Linked DNA regions of Homo sapiens: all the other regions are linked to region 3. The links are contacts of gene promoters, found by promoter capture Hi-C in blood cells and fetal thymus (Javierre and others, 2016). All regions are on one chromosome and are shown on one strand. The core of a region is centred on a gene start or on the middle of the fragment in contact, and the rest is flanking DNA. Distances in the headings are between cores, read along the strand shown. Region 1 holds the start of HNRNPM (heterogeneous nuclear ribonucleoprotein M). Region 2 holds the start of MARCHF2 (membrane associated ring-CH-type finger 2). Region 3 holds the start of ELAVL1 (ELAV like RNA binding protein 1).

Evidence for each region. Contacts are between HindIII fragments. The CHiCAGO score rates a contact against its expected background, and 5 or more counts as called.
Region 1: a contact is called between the fragment with the promoter of HNRNPM here and the fragment with the promoter of ELAVL1 in region 3, in 12 of 17 cell types (fetal thymus, naive B cells, activated CD4 T cells and 9 more). The highest score is 12.9, in fetal thymus.
Region 2: a contact is called between the fragment with the promoter of MARCHF2 here and the fragment with the promoter of ELAVL1 in region 3, in 7 of 17 cell types (total CD4 T cells, total B cells, naive CD8 T cells and 4 more). The highest score is 7.1, in total CD4 T cells.

The regions. Positions count from the first base shown.
Region 1 is chr19:8,442,259-8,446,472 of GRCh38, reverse strand. HNRNPM (heterogeneous nuclear ribonucleoprotein M) reads right to left here and starts at 1,498. Exons shown (of 16, transcript NM_005968.5): 1 at 1,362-1,498. The coding sequence starts at 1,474. RefSeq lists silencers at 990-1,219, 1,460-1,739. The HindIII fragment of the contact is 1,747 bases long and covers 110-1,856 here.
Region 2 is chr19:8,411,750-8,415,982 of GRCh38, reverse strand. MARCHF2 (membrane associated ring-CH-type finger 2) reads right to left here and starts at 2,678. Exons shown (of 5, transcript NM_001005415.2): 1 at 2,563-2,678. RefSeq lists silencers at 64-358, 2,512-2,671, 2,702-3,061 and enhancers at 2,553-3,053, 3,924-4,218. The HindIII fragment of the contact is 7,216 bases long and covers 659-4,233 here.
Region 3 is chr19:8,004,091-8,008,314 of GRCh38, reverse strand. ELAVL1 (ELAV like RNA binding protein 1) reads left to right here and starts at 2,674. Exons shown (of 6, transcript NM_001419.3): 1 at 2,674-2,820. It overlaps LOC105372266 (a long non-coding RNA gene), which reads right to left and starts at 2,502. Exons shown (of 4, transcript XR_936302.2): 1 at 2,357-2,502; 2 at 1-22. RefSeq lists silencers at 2,299-2,788, 3,019-3,218, 3,249-3,298. The HindIII fragment of the contact is 3,163 bases long and covers 834-3,996 here.

The sequences.
Region 1 (4,214 bases), core at 249-2,748, 440 kb before region 3:
GTGCCACTGCATCCCAGCTTGGGTAACAGAGGGAGACCCTGTCTCAAAGAAAAAAATTAAATATATAAGTGCTCAACCGCATTCACTTTTAATCTCCATAAACTAAGCTTCACACATTACAATATGAGGAAGGCAAAGTCACAGACAGAAAGGAAAGAAAACGGAGGGAGTTAGTATTTAATAGCTACACTTTCTGTTTCCGATGATGAAAAAGTTCTGGACATGAAGCAGTGACGGTTACAGCACACTGAGTCAGTATACTCAATGCCACTGAATTATACGCTTAAAAAATGGTTAAAATGGCAAAGTCTACGTTATGTCTATTTTACCACAATGAAATAAATGTCTGGGAAATTCAATGTGTACCCAGGCTTCCCCTTCCTTCCCGGCCGCTGATCTTGGAGCCAAAACCTCTCTGTCTCTCTTAAGTGTCTGTAATCAGAATGAATGAGTTTCACCGGGGCACAAGTCGATGCTTCCTCCTTTAAAGAAACTTTTAAAAGCCAAGGAGTCAAAGAGCCCCAAGCAGGACTCGAAAAGCTGATGAAGTCTGGAAGTAAATGAACCCGCCTCCTGACAGAACAGCTTCCCCGAAACACGGGAAAAAGGGGATTCCTCCCCCGACTTCGTATCTGTCTGCTTCCGAGGGTGAACGCTAAGCAGCAGATCCCATCTCTCCACTAATACCTGCGGCGCACCCGGGGAGGAGGAGCGGGAAACGGCGAGGGACTTGAGCCAGGGCCAGAGCGTGGGGCGAGGGGCGGTTCCGAGGGAGGCACTTCCCGCGGAGCGCGGTCGGCGCGCGGGGACTAAGGGGCGGGGCAGGAGGGGAGCCCCCCGACCCGGCTTCGCGGCCCTTCCTGACGCTTCCCTCGCTCGGTTACCGTTGACTCGGGCTGACTGCGCGCGAGGCCTCCCGGGCGCGCACCCTCTCTCCTCCCCCCACGTTACGGATCAGAAAACAGACCCCGGGAGGAGAGGGGACGGGGGGCTGAAACCCGGCCCCCGAGGTCACCCTCCCGGGGAGCGGTCGGGTAGGCCTCGGAGGCTCTCCGGTCCGGGCCCGCGCCATCAACCCCCATGCGCAGCAGCTGGGCCTGAGGCCTCGACTACGGGGTTGGCCCCGGCCTGGAGGGACTGAGGGTGGCGAGGCTCGAGGCCCGGTGTAGGGGACGATTCTGGAGGCTCCCCCGGCTCCCCGCTCACGGCCCTAGACGCCGCTACCCTGAGCAGGCGGTACGGGAACAGCCGGGGCCGAGGCCGCGCCGGGGCTAGGCCGCCAACAGACCTAACGGAGCCGCCGCCCGCGTCGGCCGCGGAGAGGAACCCTTACCCGTGGCAAAGGACCGTGGGATACTCACCCCTTAGGGCCCGGAGCCCCGTTGCCGCTCGGCACGCCGGGCGCGCCGCTCTCTTCCTCCATTTTGATCTCCGTCGCCGCCACCTCCGCCGCCGCTTCGACCCCTGCCGCCATTTTCTCCGCGTCTGGGCTTTGTGTGAGCGAACGGGCTGCACCGCGCTGCGCCTGCGCGCCCACGTGACCCGACGCAACCAGTAACACCTGCGCCCGCCGCTCCCGGCTGCCTCCTTGGCCCCACTCGCCCCGGGCCACGCCCCCGCCGCGCGCAGGCGCAGACCGGCAGCTGTTGATCGCTTCTCTCTCGAGATACACTCGCGTTAGGCACCGACTGGCTGTTCCCGGCGCGCGTCCTCTGAGTCCGATAGAGGAGGCATCTCCCCACCCCACCCCACACAAACACCTAGACCTAGTCACTCTCAGCTTTCTGTAACCAGAGCTGGAGCAGAGGGGAAGCAATGATCCTGTCTAGAGATTCCTGGAAGTTTTAGATGAAGCTTGTTCAACCCGCGGTCCGGCACACGATTCGTAAACTTTCTTAAAACATTGTGTCTTTTTGTGTGATTTTTTTCTTTTTGTAACGCAATTGCGCGGTTCTCCAGCGCGAACTTTGTAGGCAACAACGGAACGGCATGGAATAATATCAGAGTATTATCCGTAATTCGCATTATAATTGCAAACAGTTCGTCCAGAAGAAACGGAAAACTGTTAAAATTCACTAATAATGGGGCCAGGCGCGATGGCTCACTCCTGTAATCCCAGCACTTTGGGTATGGGAGGCCGAGGCGGCGGATCACCTGAGGTCAGGAGTTCGAGACCAGACTGGCCAACATGGTGAAACCGCGTCTCTACTAAAAATAAAAAAATTAGCTGGACGTGGTGGCGGGCGCCTGTAATCCCAGCTACTCGGGAGGCTGAAGCAGGAGAATCGCTTGAACCCAGGAGCCGGAGGTTGCAGTGAGCCGAGATCACGCCACTGCACCGCAGCCTGGGAGATAGACTGAGACTCCATCTCAAAAAACAAAAAGATAAGTATTGAGTACTGGGCTTAATACCTGGGTGATGAAATAATCTGTACAACAAACCTCCATGACAAGTGTTTACCTATTTAACAAACCTTCACATTTACCCCCAAACCTAAAAGTTAAAAACAAAATTAAAAAAAAAATTAATGGCTGGGCGCGGCAGCTCACGCCTGTAATCCTACCACTTTGAGAGGCCAAGGCGGGTGGATCACGAGGTCAAGAGATCAGACCATCCTGGCCAACATGATGAAACCCTGTCTCTACTAAAAATACAAAAATTAGCCGGGTGTGGTGGCAGGCGCCCATAATCCCAGCTACTGGGGAGCCTGAGGCAGGAGAATCGCTTCAACCCAGGAGGAGGAGGTTGCAGTGAGCCAAGATCGGGCCACTGCACTCCAGCCTGGTCACAGAGTGAGACCCCATCTCAAAAAAATTAAAAATAATAATAAAGAGCGAGAGGACTCTTGCAATGTTGCATAAAGTGAACTGTGACAGAATTCAGGGTGTATTCTGTACTAGGCATAATGCTGTATGGTCTTATTTTTGTGTGCATTCGTGGCATCAGTTTTATGGTGCTGTGCAGCCTCCAATGTGCCATTTTCCAAGTGCAGACAGTCGAATTGGCACCATCAGATGTTACGTGTGCTTGTGGCAACTTGGGCAGTAAGATGCAGCGATTATCTTTTTGAGACGGAGTTTCGCTCTTGTTGCCCAGACTGGAGTGCAATGGCGCCATCTCGGCTCGCTGCAACCTCCGCCTCCTGGGTTCAAGCGATTCTCCTGTCTCAGCCTCCCGAGTAGCTGGGATTACAGGTGCATGCCACCACGCCCGGCTAACTTTTGTATTTTTAGTAGAGACAAGGTTTCATCATATTGGTCAGGCTGGTCTCGAACTCCTGACCTCGTGATCCGCCTGCCTCAGGCTCCCAAAGTGCTGCGATTGTAGGCGTAAACCACTGCGCCTGGCCTTCAATGCAGCGATTATCAATAATATATTTTTTTCTTTTTTTGGAGACAGTCTTGCTCTGTCACAGAGGCTGGAGTGCAGTGGCACCATCTCAGCTCACTGCAACCTCCGCCTCCTGATTTCAAGCGATTCTTCTGCATCAGCTTTCCAAGTATCTGGGATTACAGGTGCACACCACGACGCCTGGCTAAGTTTTGTATTTTTTAGTAGAGATGGGGTTTTGCCATGCTGGCCAAACTAGTCTCAAACTCCTGACCTCAGGTGATCTGCCCACCTCAGCCTCCCAAAGTGCTGGGATTACAGGTGTGAGTCACCGTGCCCAGCCTATCAATAATATTTCAATCTACCTTTGTAAATGATAGCTCACTGCAACCTTGAACTCCTGAACTCAAGCGATCCTCCCCTGCTTAGCCTGTCAAGTAGCTGGGACTGTAGGTGCACGCCGCTGCACTTGGCTAATTTTTTATTTTTATTTTTTGGTACAGATAGGGTCTTGCCGTTTTTCCCAGGATGGTCTCGAACTCCTGAGCTCAAGGGATCCTACAGCCTTGGCCTCCCACAGTGCTGGGATTATAAGCGTGAGCCACTGTGCTGGTCCTTAGAGGATTATTAAAGACAGGTTAACACCAAACTAAAACTCTTCTCTATGAAAGTATTAGAATAGATTTGCAAAGAAAACACTTTTCCTTCTCTCTCTCTCTGTTTCTTTCTCTTTTTGTAGAGACAGGGTCTTGCTATGTTGGCCAGGCTGGTCTCTAACTCCCAGCCTTCAAGCAATCCTCCTGCCTTGGCCTCCTAAAGTGCTGGGATTTCAGGCATGAGTCACCCCATCTCGTCTCTCTCTTCCTCATGGCATGTCCTGAGG
Region 2 (4,233 bases), core at 1,429-3,928, 410 kb before region 3:
TCGGCCAGCCCCTGTGGTGGGCATCAGAGATATTTAGAGGCTAGAGGTCCACTCAAACCACAGAGGCCCAGGCCTGGAAGAGGCCAAACTTGAGGCTGGACACAAAGAGAGGGTGACTGCAAGTCGGACTCAGCTCTGAGGCTGCTGAAATGGGAGAGTGATCTGATGGCTCCAGCAAACTTGGCCCAGTGCCCAGGAGATTTATTTCTCTTCTTTCTTTTGTCTGGTTTTTTTTTTTGTTTTTTTTGTTTTTTTTTTTTTGAGATGGAGTTTCACTCTTGTTGCCCAGGGTGGAGAGCAATGGCACCACCTCGGTTCTCTGCAACCTCCGCCTCCCAGGTTCAAGCGATTCTCCTGCCTCAACCACCAGAGTAGCTGGGATTACCGGTGCCCTCCACCCACAGCTGGCTAATTATTTGTATTTTTAGTAGAGACGGGGTTTCACCATGTTGGCCAGGATGGTCTCAAACTCCTTATCTCAGGTGATCCACCCGCCTTGGCTTCCCAAAGTGCTGGGATTACAGGCATGAGTCACCGCGCCTGGCCTATTTCTTTTCTTTCTTTTGTCTGTTTTTTTTTTTTTTTCTTTTGAGGCAGGGTCTCAATCTGTCACCCAAAAGGCTGGAGGGCAGTGTAGTAATCACAGCTCACTGAAGCTTCCACCGCCCCCAGGTTCAGGTGATCCTCCCACCTCAGCCTCCTGAGTAGCTCTGCACACCACCACATCCAGCTAATTTTTGTATTTTTTTGTAGAAATGGTGTTTTGCCAAGTTGCCCAGGCTGGTCCTGAACTCCTGGCCTAGTGATCTGCCCGCCTTGGCCTCTCAAAGTGTTGGGATTACAGGCATGAGCCACCACGCCCGGCCTGGAGATAGATCTCATTGAGTCTTCACAACAAACCAATAATTACACCCTATGATGGGGAAAGAGGCTGAAGCTCGGAGAGAGGCACCTACTTTCCCAAGGTCATATAGCTAGGAAGGGGTGGTGTCAGAATTTGAACTTAAAACAGTCCAGGGAGTGGTTCTGGACCTCAAGAGACCTGGGTTCTTTAACTCCTGGCCCTCCTGGCTATGCCACCGATGCTGGGTGTCCTGGTTCAAGTCACTTTGCTTCTCTGGGCCTCATTCTAATGATGGAGCTGGTGGACTCTGTCCGTGGAGGGGTCTCCTGAGAAGGAGCCTCCAGGCTGAATTCATCCAGTAAAGCTCACCCTTAGCTAGGCTTGTTTAGGGTGGCACTGAGGCCCCCCAGTCTTTTCCATACCTGCCCAGGCTCCTTTTCCTGAAGGTAGGAAACAGAGGGCAGAGGAATCAGAGGGCCCTAAAACTCCCTACATTGTGGTCTCAGGCAGCTGTTTTACTCTCTCAGCCTCAGTATTATCATCTCTAAAATGAGTGTTACAGGCCGGGCGCAGTGGCTCACGCCTGTAATCCCAGCACTTTGTGCACTTTGGGAGTTCAAGGAAGGTGGATCACTTGAGGCCAGGAGTTCGAGACCAGCCTGGTCAACATGGTGAAACCCCGTTTCTGCTAAAAAGACAAAAATTGGCCAGGCACGGTGGCGGGGGCCTGTAATCCCAACTACTTGACCAGGGTGAGGTAGGAATCGCTTGAATCTGGGAGGCAGAGGTTGCAATGAGCTCAGATCGTGCCACTGCATTCCAGCCTGGGCAAGAGAGAGAGACTCTGTCTAAAAAAAAAAAAGACGGGGAGTCATAATGATATGTAGTTCATAAATTAGTAAAAAATTAAGAAGTTAATAACTATTAGCTCTTATTATAATTACTATCATCAGCTTACAGAGTTGTTGATGAGAGGTCACACAGTCAACCCTGGCACACACAGTAAGTGCTCAATAAAAGCTCTATTAATATTTTTTAGGGTAAATGTGGAGGTTGTTATTGCATTCATTCCTCCCTGCATGAGAAGCAAGGTTCCAATCCCAGCTCTACTCCTTATGTGCTGTGTGGCCCTGGGCAAGACACTTAACCTCTTTGAGCCTGGACTCTCTCAACTGTATAACAGGGGACATTTCTACTGCTTCCACCTACTCAGTATGGTTTCAAAAGAACTGAATGAGCTCAACATGCCCATTTGACTACCCCGTTTTGAGCACCCACATAGCACAGGGCATCCTGTTTCAGCATCTTTGTGCAAAGTGGCTGGGTCATTATATTATAACTTACTATTTTGCAGGCAGAGCCGCTCTGAGAAGGAGGTTGGGGAAGGGCATTGGCCACTTAGCAGTTGCCTACTGTGTGTCAGGCGTTTTCTGCACCAGCCACCTCCTGAATCCTCCCAGAAGCCCCATCAGGTTGGCAATGGGATGACCCAGTTTCACAGGTGGGGAAACCGAGGCTCGGAGAGGCGCCTATGTGTGCCGGACCCCGGAGACCTCCCACCGGCCTTGACACGGGAACTGAGGTCCCCGCGTCCCCGAGAAGGCTGTGGCCAAGGGATCGAGCCCAGCCGTCCCGCCCGGGTGCCGAGCTCCGGCCTCGAACCCGGGGCCGGCCCGCGGACTGGCGTCCTCCGGCCCTACCTGCAGGCCCGTGCCTACCTGATCCGCGGCCGGGCCGGGCGGCCGCACAGGCCCCTCGGTTCGCCTCGGCCCCGGTCCCGGCCCGGCCCGGCCCGTCGGCGCCACTAGCTCCGCTCCGGCCGGCACCTGCGTCCGGGCACCGCCCGCCGAGCCGACAGCGCCGCGGACCAATAGCGACCGCCTCTCGCCTGCATTCGCCAATCGCCTTGCACGTCCCGCCCTAAGAGGCGGGGCCGGAGGCCACAGGGACGACTTGGGCCGCACAGGCCCCGCTGTGCCGCAGCTGCTGGCTCCGCCCCTGCCGCGTCTTGGCTCCGCCCCCAGCTCCGGCTCCGCCCCAGCACTGGCCCCGCCCCAGCCCCGCCCCAGGCACGAGGGGGTGCTGCTGCGCCACCTGCAGACGGCCAGCGTCCTCTAATAAATAAAACCTCTGCAGAATTTAACTTTTTTTTTTTTGAGACTGGCCGGGTGCAGTGGCTCATGCCTGTAATCGGAGCACTTTGGGAGGCCGAGACGGAAGGATCGCTTGAGGCCAGATGTTGGGGACCAGCCTGGGCAACATGGTGAGTTCCCGTCTCTACAAAAAATTTAAAAGGATGGGCGCGGTGGCTCACGCCTGTAATCCTAGCACTTTGGGAAGCCGAGGCGGGCGGATCACGAGGTCAGGAGATCGAGACCATCCTGGCTAACACGGTGAAACCCCGTCTCTACTAAAAATACAAAAAAATTAGCCGGGCGTGGTGGCGGGCGCCTGTAGTCCCAGCTACTCGGGAGGCTGAGGCAGAGGAATGGCGTGAACCCGGGAGGCAGAGCTTGCAGTGAGCCGACATCGCGCCACTGCACTCCAGCCTGGGTGACAGAGTGAGACTCTGTCTCAAATAAATACATAAATAAATAAATAATAAAATAAAATAAAATAAAAGTTAGCCAAGTGTGGTGGCCCAGGCCTGTAGTCCCAGCTGCTCTGGAGGCTGAGGCAAGAGGATCACTTGAGCCCAGGAGTTCGAGGCCAGTCTGGGCAACATAGTAAACTCACCCACCCCCATCTCTAAGACAGATCAATTTTTAAAAAAATACTGCACTATATGTTCACTTAGTATAAGCACACTTTTGCACATAATCACAGTATAACCTTCAAAATCAGAAAATTAATGTTCATCTAATATTATCATGTAATTCCCAGAGCCCATTCAAAGGCCAGGTGCAGTGACTCATGCCTGTAATCCCAGCACTTGGATCATTTGAGGTCAGGAGTTCGAGACCAGCCCGGCCAACATGGTGAAACCCTGTCTGTACTAAAAATACAAATAATTAGCTGGGTTTTGTTGTGGGCACCTGTAATTCCAGCTACTCAGGAGGCTGAGGCAGGAGAATTGCTTGAATCTGCAAGGTGGAGGTTGCAGTGAGCGGAGATCTTGCCACTGCACTCTAACCTGGGCAACACAGCCAGACTCTGTCTCAAAAAAAAGAAAAGAAAAGTTTCCAATAAAGTCCTTTAAAAATCCAAAGTCCAGGCCAGGCACAGTGAGTCATGTCTGCAATCCCAGCTCTTTGGGAGCCCAAGGCAGGAAGGTCTCTTGGGTCTAGGAGTCTGAGATCAGTCTGGGCAGCACAGTGAGACCCCATCTCTACAAAATAAAATAAAAATATTAGCCAGTTGTGGTGGCATCCTCCTGTGGTCCCAGCTAC
Region 3 (4,224 bases), core at 1,425-3,924:
GCCTTGGCAACAGAGTGAGACTCTGTCTCAAAAAAATAAGAAAAAAAAAGCATGCAGGAAAGAAAAAGGACACAAAGTATCTTCTATTTTGGAAAGATAACAGATGCAAAACATCCTGTATTTTAAAATATTGACTACATGTTTAAATAATAACATATTCAACCTACTGAGTTAAATAAAACACATTACAACTAACATCACCCGTTTCTTTTTACTTATTTTTAAACATGGCTAACAATGTACCAATTTAAATTACATACCTCGCTGACAAATCTGTGGCTTGCTTATACTGTTTTTTTGAGATGTAATTTCCCTCTTTCACCTAGGCTGGAGTGCAGTGGCGGGATCTCGGCTCACTGCAACCTCCACTTTCCAGTTTCAAGCGATTCTCCTGCCTCAGCCTCCCGAGTAGCTGGGATTACAGGCTCCTGCCACCACGTCCAGCTAATTTTTGTATTTTTAGTAGAGACTGGGGTTTCAACATGTTGGCCAGGCTGGTCTCGAACTACTGACCTGGTGATCTGCCCGCCTCGGCCTCCCAAAGTGCTGGGATTACAGGCGTGACCTACTGTGCCTGGCCTGCTTTGTTTATACTTCTATTGCACCGTGATGACCCAGAATGCTGGCTACTATAAAATTTAACAATTAAATGTTAAATTTAACATTTAATTGAGCTAGGTGTGGTGGCACGTGCCTATAATCCCAGCTACTTGGGAGCCTGAGGCAGAAGGACTGCTTGAGGTCAGGAGTTAAACCTGTGGGATGATTGCACCTGTGAACAGCCACTGCACTCCAGCCTGGGCAACACAGTGAGACCCAATCTCTAAAAAGCTTTCCTAGGCCGGGTGGTGGCTCATGCCTGTAATCCCAGCACTTTGGGAGGCCGAGGTGGGTGGATCACTTGAGGCCAGGAGTTTGAGACCAGCCTGGCCAACATGGCAAAACCCCATCTCTACTAAAACCACAAGAATTAGCTGGGTGTGATGTTGCACGCCTGTGATCCCAGCTACTTGGGAGGCTGAGGCACGAGAATCACTTGAATAGGGAGGCAGAGGTTGCAGTGAGCTGAGATCACACCACTGCATTCCAGCCTGCACAGCAGAGTGAGACCCTGTCTCCAAAAAAAAAAAAAAAAAAAAAAAAAACTTCTAAGAAAATATGATTAAAAAAAGAAACAGGCTGGGCACCGTGGCTCCCGCCTGTAATCCCAACACTTTGGGAGGCCAAAGCAGGAGGATCACTTAAGTCTAGAAGTTTGAGACCAGCCTAGGCAATACAGCAAGACCTCATCGCTACAAAAAAATAAAACATTAGCCAGGCATAGTGGCACATCCTGTAGTCTAAGCTACTCAGGAATCTGAAGCCGGAGGATTGATTGCCTGAGCTGGGGAAGTTGAGGCTGCAGTTAGCTGTGATCATACCACCGCACTCCAAATTGGGTGACAGAGTGAGATCCTGTCTCAAAAAAAAAAAAAAAAAAAGAAAAACAAAATTGTAGGCCAGGCGCAGTGGCTCAAGCCTGTAATCCCAGCACTTTGGGAGGCTGAGGCGGGCAGATCACGAGGTCAAGAGATACAGATCATCATGGCCAACACGGTGAAACCCCGTCTCTACTAAAAATACAAAAATTAGCTGGTTGTGGTGGCGCAGCGCCTGTAGGCCCAACTACTTAGGAGGCTGAGGCAGGAGAATCGCTTGAACCTGGGAAGCGGAGGTTGCAGTGAGCGGAGATCACGCCACTGCACTCCAGCCTGGCGACAGAGCGAGTCTCCGTCTCAAATAAATAAATAAATAAATAAAAATAAAAAGACTATTATTTTCAGATCATAAAAAAAAAAAAGAAAAAATTAGGCAGAGTGCAGGCATGCCTGTAATCCCAGCTCTTTGGGAGGCGGAGGCAGGAGAATCGCTTGAGTCCAGGAGTTCGAGACCAGCCTGGGCAACAGAACCAGAGCCCATCTTTACATAAAAAAAAATTAAACATGTAGCTTGCATGTATTTCTACTAGGGCATTCTAGGCCAGCGCTGGTTTAGAATGTTAGCCCAATAAGACCAGGTATTTTTTTTCTGCTCACTGCCCATACAGTGATTGACACACAGTAGGCGCTCAATGACATTTTAATGAATGAATGAGATGCTGAGCCTTCGGGAACTGGCTTGCTCAAAGAGCCAGCACCGATGAAGCGCTGACCACGTTCCATGCCCCGCCTCCTCAGCGCACCAGAGAAGGAAACTGAGGCCCGGCAAGGTGACGTCAGCTCCTGCCCAACGGCACGTAGTGCGGAAACGTCGGGGCCGGGATTCGAACCCAGGTTCTGTACCCGTAACCCCGGCGCGCTGACCTTTCCTACCTTACCGGGCGGCGGCAGGACAGACAGGTGCGGGACACACGGCGAGCGCTCAACCAGAGGCGCCGCTCCTCAGCCACCGCCTTCCGTCAGCCTCCGAGGGCCGGAACCCAGTTCGCCCCCTCCGCGGCCATCGCTGGCTGCCCGCGTCTCCGCCGGCCGCGGAGCACTTCGCAGGCGGCGCCGACCGGAAGTCCCGCCTCTCCCGCGCGCCCCGGAGCGCCGCGACAGCTACGCCGGCCAATGAGCAGCGCGCCGTGGCGGACGTCGGCCAATGGGCTCGCGCGCGGGGGGGGCGTGTCCGGGCCGCGGGCCGGAGCGGGTCGTGCGCGCTGAGGAGGAGCCGCTGCCGCCGTCGCCGTCGCCGCCACCGCCGCCACCGCTACCGAGGCCGAGCGGAGCCGTTAGCGCCGCGCCGCCGCCGCCTCCCGCCCGCCCCGGAGCAGCCCCGGGCCCGCCCGCCCGCATCCAGGTGAGGCGGTGGGGGGCCTTCGGCGGCGCCCGACGGGGTAGGCCGCGGCAGGCCTGAGCTCGCCTGGCCTGGCCGCGGGGCGCCCGCGGGCCTGCACCGGCCGAGGCCCAGGCCGCGCCGGACCGGGGGAGGGGACGCGCGCTGGGGCCGCGGCGGGCGGGTCGGGGCGGGCCGGTGTGGGCGCCGGCTACAGGCCCCGGGGCCGGATTCCTCTGGCGCCTCGAGGGACGGGCGAGGGGGATACGGCGTGGGCATGCGCCGGGGGGCCGGGCTGCACGGCCGGGGGCCCCGGTCGCCTTGGAAGCCCGGGCTCCGGGGGCGGGAGAGTGGGGCCAGCTACGGGGGAGCGCCGGGAACGCTTTGAGCGCGCAGAGGTCACGGCCCACGGGCTTGCTCCCCCGGGAAATCCCACAGATTCTTTTGTGGTCGTTGTCAGAGCACCGCGGCCGGTGCGAGGTCCTTTGAGAAGTGTGCAAACCCTTCAGTAGATACACGGGAGTCCTGGGGGAAAAAAAAAATCTAAACTGCATCTTTTTTTGAGCGCCATCTCTAACAAAGCTGTTTGTGGGGCGTGGGACGTTAGGATTTGTAAAATATGTGTGTGTGCCTGTTGGAAACACAAGCTGCACACAGTTGAACAATGGGGGATGGATGCCCTTCCTTCCTTTTCCGGTGCTCTGGGCTGCGGGGCTTGTTAAAATGGGTTTTGGTCCCTACTGTGTGCAGGGCAGGTGGAGAAGAACTTCTGCACAACTTCTGCATGGGCTTCCCGTGGTGGGACTGAGCCCCCTTGCTAGAAAGTGTTCATCTAAGATCCGGATGGCCAGAAATGGGAAGATGAGGAGAATGATCTGTCTAGAGCAGGGTTTCTCGACGTTGGCCCTACTGATGTTTGGGGTCAGATAGTTTTTGGTTGTGGTGGTAGTGGGGGCTTCCCTGTGCAATGTAGGAAGTTGAGCCGTATTCCTGGCCTCTACCCACTAGATGCCAGCAGTATCCCCATGCTCCAAGTCGTGAGGATCAAAAGTATCTCCAAACATTGCCAGATGGCTCGGGTTGCGGGGGAGGGGTCTCTTCCACTCTCACACGCACAGGTGAGAACCATTACTGAACTAAATGCTCTTCCTCCAAAAGTTCTAATGCCCTGGGAGATGCTCCCAAGACCTCGAACAAGCTTGACTCTGTTGAGCCTTAGTTTTCTTATCTATAAAATGGGAAGGACAAAAGTGTGGTGCAAATTGAAGAGGGTGGAAATCCCGTTGCGTTGTGCGTGGTCTGTGCCTGGTAGGCACTGAATAAATGATGTTGTACATAGCCACCAGTATTTATTGAGGATTTACTATGTGCTTGACACTTTGTGGACGTTTGTCTGCAGTCCTTGAGGCAGGTGATGTTATAATTTCC